Regions from separate parts of the Homo sapiens genome. Here regions 1 and 2 are each linked to region 3. The links are contacts of gene promoters, found by promoter capture Hi-C in blood cells and fetal thymus (Javierre and others, 2016). All regions are on one chromosome and are shown on one strand. Each heading gives the region's core, a stretch centred on a gene start or on the middle of the fragment in contact. The rest is flanking DNA. Distances are from core to core; before and after follow the strand shown. Region 1 has its middle 4.7 kb from the start of PPDPF. Region 2 overlaps LOC105372725 (a long non-coding RNA gene). Region 3 holds the start of ZBTB46 (zinc finger and BTB domain containing 46).

Region 1 (3,268 bases), core at 760-3,259, 310 kb before region 3:
CTATAGAAGGGTGCGACTCGCGGATGGAGCAATGGTGAGAGCGCACCTGGACAAGGGAGGGGAAGGGGTTCTTATTCCTGACACAGGTAGCCTCTACGGCTGTGTCATTCCCCTGTTGGGTGGGGTTGGACTGCACACTCTAAGGTAATTCTGATTGACTATTTTAAAGAGAGCAGGGGTGTGACCCAGAGTGGTGGGGTGAGTAGTTTGGCAGGAAGGACAGGAACAGGTAGCTAAAGATGACTTAGGTCAGAGCAGGTGACCAGGGGCCGGGTGCGATGGCTCACGCCTGTAATCCCAGCACTTTGGGAGGCCGAGGCGGGTGGATCATGAGGTCAGGAGATCGAGACCATCTTGGCAAACGTGGTGAAACCCCGTCTCTACTAAAAATACAAAAAAAATTAGCCAGGCGTGGTGGCGGGCACCTGTAGTCCCAGCTACTCGGGAGGCTGAGGCAGGAGAATGGCAGGAACCCGGGGGGCGGAGCTTGCAGTGAGCGGACATCGCACCACTGCACTCCAGCCTGGGCAACAGAGCGAGACTCCATCTCAAAAAAAAAAAAAAAAAAAAACAGGTACCAGGATGAGTCAGGACGGAGCAGGTGACCAGGGGAACAGATGTGAACTATTGATTAAAACTGGTGGAAAAGGTTGTTTACTGAAACTATGCACGAGTTAAATGGAGAACAAAGAACTGAACATACATGCTGAGTCCTCTAAGAGAAATCTAGAACTCACTGTATCCAACAGACCCTTGAACAAAAGACAGATTAAACTGGGCGCAGTGGCTCACGCCTATATTCCCAACACTTTGGGAGGCTGAGGCAGGTGGATCACTAGAAGCCGGGACTTCAAGTCCAGCTTGGTCAACATGGCAACCAACACGGCAAAACCCTGTTTCTATCAAAAACAAAAAAATTAGCCAGACGTGGCGGTGCATGCCTGGAGTCCCAGCTACTGGGGAGGCTGAGATGGGAGGATCCCCTGAGCCCGGGAGGCGGAGGCTGCGGTGAGCCAAGATTGCGCTACTGCACTCCAGCCTGGGCGTCAGAGAGCAAGACTCTGTCTTAAAAAAAAAAAAGAAAAAGCATACAAACATTTAATGCGAGTTCCATGTGATGTGGGCCCCTTCAAAACAAAGACCAAAGAAATGGTCTATTTCACAGCGGAGCAGGAGTGAGCGGAGGATGGAAGGGTGTGATCAAGGCCCGACTTGACTCTGACATCCCTTTCCTCTGGTTAGGGGGCGGGACACCACGTGAGGGTCTGCAGGGAGAGGGTCTGGGAGTGGCCTTCCTGGGTTTTATGGCCTGCTTCAGGGAAGAAAGGCAGGGAGGTTAGAATGGCCTCAACGGTGAAATATTTATCTTTTTCTTCCTCCCTAATCCCAGAATTCAGAAACTGTTAGTGGGTTTGCATAAGTTCAATGAGAATCTGTTCTTGTAATAGGGCACAATTGAAAACATTGGTTATATTACCAAGGCTTTGACTGGAATGTCCTATTTTCAGATACGACTAAAGGAGTTAGGGTTGACTGCATGGTCCAATAAAGCCCCTTGGAAAAAAGCTGGCCTGGTACCTCACATACGTGGTTCCCTTACAGATGAGTAAAGAATGTCAATTCCTGGCAGGTCCCAGAATCTTAAGATACCTTAGGGACCTCAAGAAGAGAGGAATTCCCCTAAATCTGTACTTATTGCAGGCAAAGTCTGATGGCAAGTCTTTGCGATGGCTTCCTAGCCTCAAGAGGCTTTTAAAAGCCCAATCTCAGATTCCTTATAAAAAGTTCCAGTAGGCCAGGCACAGTGGCTCACACCTGTAATCCCAGCACTTTGGGAGGCCACGGTGGGCAGATCACGAGGTCAGGGGATCGAGACCATCCTGGCTAACACGGTGAAACCCCGTCTCTACTAAAAATAAAAAAATTAGCCGGGCATGGTGGCGGGTGCCTGTAGTCCCAGCTATGCGGGAGGCTGAGGCAGAAGAATGGCATGAACCCGGGAGACGGAGCTTGCAGTGAGCCGAGATCGCGCCACTGCACTCCAGCCTGGGCGACAGAGCAAGACTCCGTCTCAGGAAAAAAAAAAAAAAAAGTTCCAGTAAAGCAAATTTTAAAAGAGCCCACGTGTCCAGGTGTACCTATAATCCCAGCACTTTGGGAGCCTGAGATGGGAGGTTTGCTTGAGCCCAGGAGTTCAGGACTGGCCTGGGCAACATAGTGGGGCTCCCTCTCTACTAAAATACAAATAAATTAGCCAGGTGTGGTGTCACATGCCTGTCGTCCCAGCTACTCTGGAGGGTGGGGCTGGAAGGTGGCTTGAGCCCAGGAGGTCAAGGCAGCAGTGAACCATGATGGTACCACTGCACTCCAGCCTCGGTGACAGGGTGAGGCCCTGTTGGAAAACAAAAATGAGGAAGAACCTATGTGGTTAATCACTATTCTTGTTCCACTTACATAAATAACCACACCAGGTTTAATGAGGCCAAACTTACTCTGCAATCAAATCAATCTTTTATTATCTTTGATAGAAATGTGTTAATTTGAAAACAATCCTACTTTTATTATCTTTGATAGAAATGCGTTAATTTGCAGCCGGTCACGGTGGCTCACACCTGTAATCCCAGCACTTTGGGAAGCCGAGGTGGGCGGATCACCTGAGGTCAGGAGTTCGAGACCAGCCTGGCCAACATGGCAAAACCCTATCTCTACTAAAAATACAAAAATTAGTCGGGCGTGGTAGCAGGCACCTGTAATCCCAGAGACTTGGGAGGCTGAGGCAGGAGAATCACTTGAACCCGAGAGGCAGAGGTTGCAGTGAGCCAATATTGCGCCATTGCACTCCAGCCTGGGCGACAGAGCGAGACTCCATCTCAAAAAAAAAAAGGAAGAAGGAAATTTGTTGGCTGGGTGCGGTGGCTCACACCTGTAATCCCAGCATTTTGGGAGGCCGAGGTGGGTGGATCACCTGAGGTCGGGAGTTCGAGACCAACCTGACCAACGTGAAGAAACCCCATCTCTACTGAAAGTACAAAAATTAGCTGGGCGTGGTGGCGCATGCCTGTAATCCCAGCTACTCGGGAGGCTGAGGCAGGAGAATCACTTGAACCCGGGAGGCAGAGGTTGCCGTGAGCCGAGATCAAGCCATTGCACTCCAGCCTGTGCAATAAGAGCGAAACTCTATCTCAAAAAAAAAAAAAGAAAAAGAAATTTGTTGACTGTAGAGAGAAAAATTATGTTTCAAAATAAAACTCGTGCCCCCACTATTAGA
Region 2 (3,275 bases), core at 668-3,167, 330 kb before region 3:
AGATGCCTCCATGCCGTCCCGTGCAGCAGGCATTTGTTCATTTTCATCACTGTACTGCATTCCACTTCCAGTTCTGAACGACTACAAATAAAGCTGCTACGAACACTTGTGTGCGTCTCTCTTGTGCGGGTGTACCTGCTCAGTACACACCCCAGGATGTTTCAGCCACATGATAGGTGCATTATGCCAACCACTAGTTTATTGTCTTTTGGCTCGAAATTTAACCTTCAATACCTGCTCCACAGCAGTGGACAGAATTACTTTAAGCATTTCTCCTTTACACTGGGCAGATTCATTTTTTTTCTTTTCTTTTTTTCTGAGACAGGGTCTCACTCTGTCCCCCAGGCTGTAGAGTAGTGGCACAATCATGGTTCACCACAGCTTCGGCCTCCCAGGCTCAAGCGATCCTCCCACCTCAGCCTCCCAAGTATTTGGGACTACAGGTACACACCACCACGCCCAGCTAATTTTTGTATTTTTTATAGAGATAGGGTCTTGCCATGTTGCCTAGGCTGGTCTCCAACTCATGGGCTCAAGTGATCCACCCGCCTTCGTCTCCCAAAGCCCTGGGATTACAGACGCGAACCACTGCACCCAGCTGAGATTCACTTTTTTGAGGAAGGCAATAAAGGGTGAATTTGCAGCTGGAAATAAATCAATTGATAATTGGCTTTTACCCCTTGAGCGTGGGTTGCATTGTCCTGTTTCTTCGTGTGTCTAGTGATTTTTGACTGAATACTGAACATCATGTGGAGAGTCTACTCTGCTTCCTCCTCTGAAGCTGTCGGTGTTTGCTTTGCAGGTTGGTTCACTGCTGGGCCCTGTGGACTTGTTCTCATGCTTTGTCAGTGTCGATGTCGAAAGCCCAAAGTGTTTCCCAAGTCCTGCTACCTTGGTAAGACTCAACCCTCAATCTCAGTCTCCCCTGCAGATCTCTGTGGGGCTTGGTCTGAACTTTCGTTAGGTGAGTGTGGAGTAGGCATTATTGTACATTGTAGTCCTTTCTCCTCAAAAAAAAAAAAAAAAAGTAAGGTCTCTCCACTCTAGCCAGGTCCAAATGCCAAATGCCAATGCCGCCCAAGTCTCTCCACTCTGGCCAGGTCCAAATGCCAAATGCCAAAATACTGCCCGACACAGCTTGTCCTCTACTATCTTTGTTCTGCTCTAACCTGGGTGGATACAACCTCAGGTAATCCCTGGTGAGTCGCAGCCTTGAGTACTTTCCTCCGAGAAACACTACGGTTTGTGTCCAGCCCATAGAACACAGAAAGGTGATAAGTCACTCTGTGATTGGCTGCATCATTCCAGGCTCTGTCCTGGGGGACGGAGCAGCAAGACACCCCTGCTGTCTGTGAAGATATGGCTGTTGGAAGGCATGGGAGGGGCCTCGTATCAGGGAACCAGTGAGTGGCCCCAGGCTGCCAGCCAACAAGAAAGCAGGGACCTCAGTCCTACAGCCACAAGGAACTGAATTCTGCCAACAACCACGTGGCCTTCAAAGAGGACCTCAAGCTTCAGAAAGAAATACCAACACCTTGGTGGCACTCTTGAAACCCCGAGCCACCCAGCGGAATTGTGTGTGGGCTCCTGACCCCCCAAAACTGAGAATAAATGCATGTTTTTTAAAGCTACTAAATCGGTGTTGATTGGTTATGCAGTGACGGATAACAGCACAGGGCCTATAGTCACTGCTCTCTGGTGAGCCTCCGGCACCTCCTCACCCTCAGCCACAGGCTTGCAGAGGTCCCAAGCACTCCCCACCAGCAACATGCACACCTAAGCCCCTCACTCCAGTCTCTGCCTCTCATCCCAGGGGGACTGCCGTGCTCTGCCTGGAGCCCTGCTTGTGGGGTTATGGCCAAGGAGAGCCGGGAGTGTGGGCGCCTCCAAGCACCCTCTCGGTCTTGTGCTGTCCTCACCCCACTGCCTGAAGAGAGCAGCGCACGAATTTTGTCTGGTCTCAGAGTCGTTTCTGGAGGGAGACGTACCTGGCAGCAGCTACTCCCCCGCAACTGGAAGCAGCGGTTGACTCCACATCAATACAAAGACAAGGTTACTTCAGTCTTTTTACTTTTATATTTTATTGTTTTACTATTTTCACGGTATATACATTGGGCCTGTCTTTTTAAAAATCTTTTATGACACTGAAACTTTTGAAGAATGCAAACCGGTTGTTTTGTAGATTGTCCCCGCATTGAGCGTTCCTGACATTTCTGCATGAACAGATTGGCACCAAGAGCCAGGCATCCTTCCCAGCACTCGGGACGCTGGCTGCCCACCAGCGGCAACGGTACCTTTGATCCTCTGGTTAAACTGGCATCCACAAGCTTCTCACAGTAAAGTTACCACTTTGCCCTTTGTAACTGATAAGTAAGCCGGGCACGGTGGCTGACACCTGTAATCCCAGCACTTTGGGAGGCCAAGGCGGGTGGATCACTTGAGCCCAGGAGTTCAAGACCAGCCCGGCCAAAATGGTGAAACCCCATCCCTACTAAAAATTCAAAAATTAGCCAGGTATGGTGGCACATGCCGGTATTCCCAGCTACTCAGGAGGCTGAGTCACGAGAATCGCTGGATCCCGGGAGGCAGAGGTTGCAGTAGCCAAGATCATGCCACTGCACTCCAGCCTGGGTGACAGAGTGAGTGAGAATCTGTCTCAAAAAAAACCCTGAAAATTAACAAGGAAGTACTTTTGATACTGGTGGCCAGGGGAGGTCCCCAAATGCGAATGGGACCTTGACCCAGGCCAGTGTCCTGCCTCTTAACACCATCACAAAACGAATTCAAGGATGAGTTAAAAAATAATGAAAGTAGAGATTTATTGCAAAGCAAAAAGTACACCCTCCAGAAAGCAGAGTGTGGCTGGGTGTGAAGGCTCACGCCTGTAATCCTAACACATTGGGAGGCTGAGGCAGGAGTTCGAGATCAGCCTGGGCAACATAGTGAGACCCTGCCTCATAAAAATAAACAAGCAAATAGAAAAAAAAGTCAAAGAAGAAAGGGGAGTATGGGTGTTCTCAAGAAAGTGAGTCGTGAGGCAGGGTTTGGGGCCCCTACCTTTAATGGGTTTCTTTAACCAAGGAGTGGAATATTCATAAAGATTTCTGGAAAAAGGTGAAGATTTCTAGGAACTGTGGTGCCACCCTTTTTTACACCAAATATGTGTGTTCCTGGAACTGTCATGGCACTGCCGAGTGTGATTTGTGTGTTGATGAGCATATAATTAGGTCACCGGTGAAACCCAGGTCAAGTCCGCTGCCATGTGGGTCCAGTCG
Region 3 (3,367 bases), core at 800-3,299:
TTAGGTAACAGTCCACCCAACCCGAACATCCGAAACAGGAGTGGAACTCAGGTCTGAGCACAGAACGACTCATCCTCACACAAAACAGCTAAACCCGAACAGAAATCACCTCATCTAAGCAAAAGAAAACTCTCACGTTCAGGATAATGCTGTCAGTGAGAGGCTTAATTAAATGCTTGTCCCCAGGCTGGCCTGAAGGCAAGGCGGAATTTCGGATTTCTAAACACCTCAAAGTGAGTGCATTCCACGCCCCAAGGAGAAATCTGACAGTAACTCCCCAGCCCTCTTCCTTCAGTTACGGAGAAGATGTCTAGCTTTTTAGGGGACACAGTAAGTTCCCACCTAAATTTGCAGTAACTTGTGCCCAAGTACTCCCCTCACTCCTCAGTCCTTTCTGCAGTGGTAACCAGGCTGAGGTGCCCAAAAGTGCCAGTTGGAAACACGTAAAACACACCGAGCAGAAAGGTTCTACTCTGATAAATACTGTCGCTTGCTTCATTATTCATGTGAAAAACCCCTTCTATACATTTCCTTTTGATGAACAAACTATTTTCCACTCTTGTAGAGTGAAATAGTGCCTTGCAGAGGCAGCGTGAGTGCCAGCAGCAGAGATGTATCCAGTCTGTTACCCAAACGGGAAGTTAGCTCTGATAATAGAGCCAATATGAAAGATTCTACAATCGATACAATTAAAATGCCCGTGAGTTCTCGGCGCACAGGTGTCTGCGCCCAGGCCGCGCGCTAAACACGTTTCTAATTAGCATTTCTTTAAACAATGCTGATCACAATCTTGCCACCGTAATCCACTCCAAATGCATCGTTGAGATTGCAGCACGGAAAGCGAGAGAGGAAATTCGCTGCGAATCTCAAACTTTCTTTTGTTTATATTTCTTCGCTGTCAGAAAATATCCGTTCTTCGCCCCATCTGGTCTGTACCCTGGCTCCTCGGTCCAGCCCTATTGTGTGTGCTTCGTTAAACCTACAAACAGTGAATCTGTCAGCGGGGCCAGGGGAACCCCAACTAGCAGGAGCCCTCCCTCTGGCGCAGAGAATTCCCCGTTTGCCTTAGGGATTGAGTTGTCAGACACCGGCTCGCGCTCCCCCGCGAAACTGACATGTCTATTTACAGAGAAACAAAGACGCGGCTCGCAGCGGACCCCGCTTCCTCCGCGCGCCCCGTCCGCCCCGCGCGCCCCGAGCCCTCCGCGCCCCGAGCCGCCCCGCCCCGAGGCCCCTGCGCCCCGGTTCGGCCGGCGATTAAGATGGAGACCAGGCCGGCGCCCGGCGTCCGGGGAGACAATGACCCCCCGGCCTCAGGGCGCCGGGACCCGCCCGCGCCCACCTCCCGCAGTTCCGACTCTTGGCAAACTCGGCGCGGGCGGCTCCGGGTGCGGCTGGGCTGTGCCGGCGGGGGGCGCGGGCGGGGGGCGCCAAGACGCCCCCGGGCTGCCTCGGGGCCAGGCGTTGACGCAGCAGAAATTACCAGCTGGAAAATTCCCCTCTCGGAGGTGCCGGGGAGGGAGCGCGGCGGCGGCGGGAGGTGCCGGGGGCCGAGGGGCCGGGGCAGCCCAGCCGCCTCCGCGCTCAGCCCCGCGGGGAACCCGCGCCGCCCCCGCGCGCCCCGCCCCGCGCCGCCGGCCTGGGGGGCACCCGCGGGGGCCGGGCCGGGGTCTCCGCCGCCGCCCCCGGAGCCCGCGCCGCAGCTGGGAGCGCCGATGGCCCCCGGGAGGGCGCCCCCGCGGGGCGGGGCGTGGCGGGGCGGCCGGCGGCGGGGGCGCGCCCGGGCTCGCAGCGGCCCCGGCTCCCGGCTCCCGGCTCCGGGCCCGGCCCCCGCCGCGATGCGCCCGCCCGGCCGCGCGGACAATGAGCCGGCGCCGCTTACCTGTGACCCCATGGGGCGCGGGCGAGGGCGGGCGCCGCGGCCGCCGGGCCGGCGCCGGTGATCGCCGCCGCCGCCGGGAGGGCGCTGCGTCCGGGCGGGTCCGAGCTGCGCGCTCGCCGGGGCTGCTCGGTCCGTCCGTCCGTCCGTCGGTCCGTCAGGCCGGCGCGCGCCCCCGCGCCCGCTCCAACCCCGCGGCCCCCGCCGCCCGCGCGCGCGCGCCCCGCCCGCGGACCCTGACCCCGCCCCCCGGCGCGCGCCCGGCCGCCGCTGATTGGCCCGCGCCGCGCCCCGGCCGCGGCCACCGCCCCGGGCCCCGCCCACGCCGGCCCGGCCGCCGGCCCCGCCCCTCGCTCGGCTCCCGGCGCCGCGCCGCGGGGTCGCAGGGGGCCGCGCCGGGGGTCCGTTCTCCCCCCCGCGGGCAGCCGGACAGCGGAAGTGCGGGCTGGAGCTCGCTGGGCATTGTGGGAAGCCCCCTCCCCTGGGCTGGCGGGGGGCTGGGGCGGCGCGGCGCGGGGGTCCCCCTGGCCCCCGCTGCGCCCTTGCCCCGCGAGCGCGGAGCAGCCTGGAAACACCCCACGGGAGCGGCGACCCCGGCGAGGGCACCCGCTCCCTTCCCGGGCCGCGCACCGGGCGCTGCCCACGCGCAGGTTCCTCGGGGGCGCGCGGGTGCCCAGGTCACCGGCCGTCCCCGCGCCTGACGCGCGGTTGCACTGCGCGCGTCTCGCAAACTTGGCGACTCCCCCAGCCCGGCCGGGCATCAACGCGGGCCGCTCGCGGTGCGGAAAAGGCGCCCCCAAGGAAGGCCGCCCGGGGTGCGGGGTCTGGAAGGGCCTGGGCACCGCGCGCGCCTACCCTCGGGGGCCTCGGCGCACCCGGAGATCGGCGCACCTCGGGCGCAGGCCTCGTGGGGGTGCCCGCCAGTGGGGCTCGCTTTTGGCTGACTAGGGGCACCGGCGGCCGCGCGTGGGTCCCTCCCGTCGTGTTGTCTGCGGGGGACGAATGGCTCCGGGAGGGGGCGGGAACCAGCGGCCCGGGCCTCGCCCCAGCCCGTGTGCAGCCCCGATCCGAACGGCCTGGGACGCGTCTCCACCACTCGGCGCCCGGACTCTGCGCGTCGCTTCTCGCCTCCGCCGTCCTCAGCCCTCGGGCGGGTAGAGTGGGAAGCGCGGCCCCGCATTCCTGGCCGGCCTGCGCAGGGGTAAAGGCCACCTCGCTTCCTCTCCCCGGGCGCGGCGGGAAGGGAGGTGAGCCTGTGGCCGGCAGCCGCGCGAGGGAGTCGAGCCCGGCCCGGCCAACCAATGGGGAGGCGCCCGGGCCGTCCAGCCTGCCTCCCTGCGGGCCCAGCGCAGCGGATTCCTCGGGAGGTGGGAGGCGGCGGCCCTATGGGTGCTTTCAAATCTGGATGTGTGAGGCGCATTCAGGAGCGGCAGTGGGAGGCGGCTGAGGGCTCTCCATGAGTGAGCAAAGGCGAAGCGAGGTGTGGCT

What was found. Contacts are between HindIII fragments. The CHiCAGO score rates a contact against its expected background, and 5 or more counts as called.
Region 1: a contact is called between a fragment that was not itself captured here and the fragment with the promoter of ZBTB46 in region 3, in 1 of 17 cell types (monocytes). The highest score is 5.3, in monocytes.
Region 2: a fragment that was not itself captured here is called in contact with the fragment with the promoter of ZBTB46 in region 3 in 2 of 17 cell types (monocytes and total CD4 T cells); the score reaches 5.7 in monocytes.

What each region holds. Positions count from the first base shown.
Region 1 is chr20:63,523,817-63,527,084 of GRCh38, forward strand. No RefSeq gene overlaps it. Among named protein-coding and RNA genes, the nearest start is that of PPDPF, 4.7 kb to the left of the region's middle. The HindIII fragment of the contact is 4,217 bases long and covers 1-3,268 here.
Region 2 is chr20:63,504,102-63,507,376 of GRCh38, forward strand. It overlaps LOC105372725 (a long non-coding RNA gene), which reads left to right. Exons shown (of 3, transcript XR_937004.3): 2 at 803-895; 3 at 1,254-1,631. Among named protein-coding and RNA genes, the nearest start is that of EEF1A2, 6.7 kb to the left of the region's middle. The HindIII fragment of the contact is 815 bases long and covers 1,511-2,325 here.
Region 3 is chr20:63,829,215-63,832,581 of GRCh38, forward strand. ZBTB46 (zinc finger and BTB domain containing 46) reads right to left here and starts at 2,050. Exons shown (of 5, transcript NM_001369741.1): 1 at 1,883-2,050. RefSeq lists an enhancer at 1-485 and a silencer at 2,068-2,207. The HindIII fragment of the contact is 15,017 bases long and covers 1-3,367 here.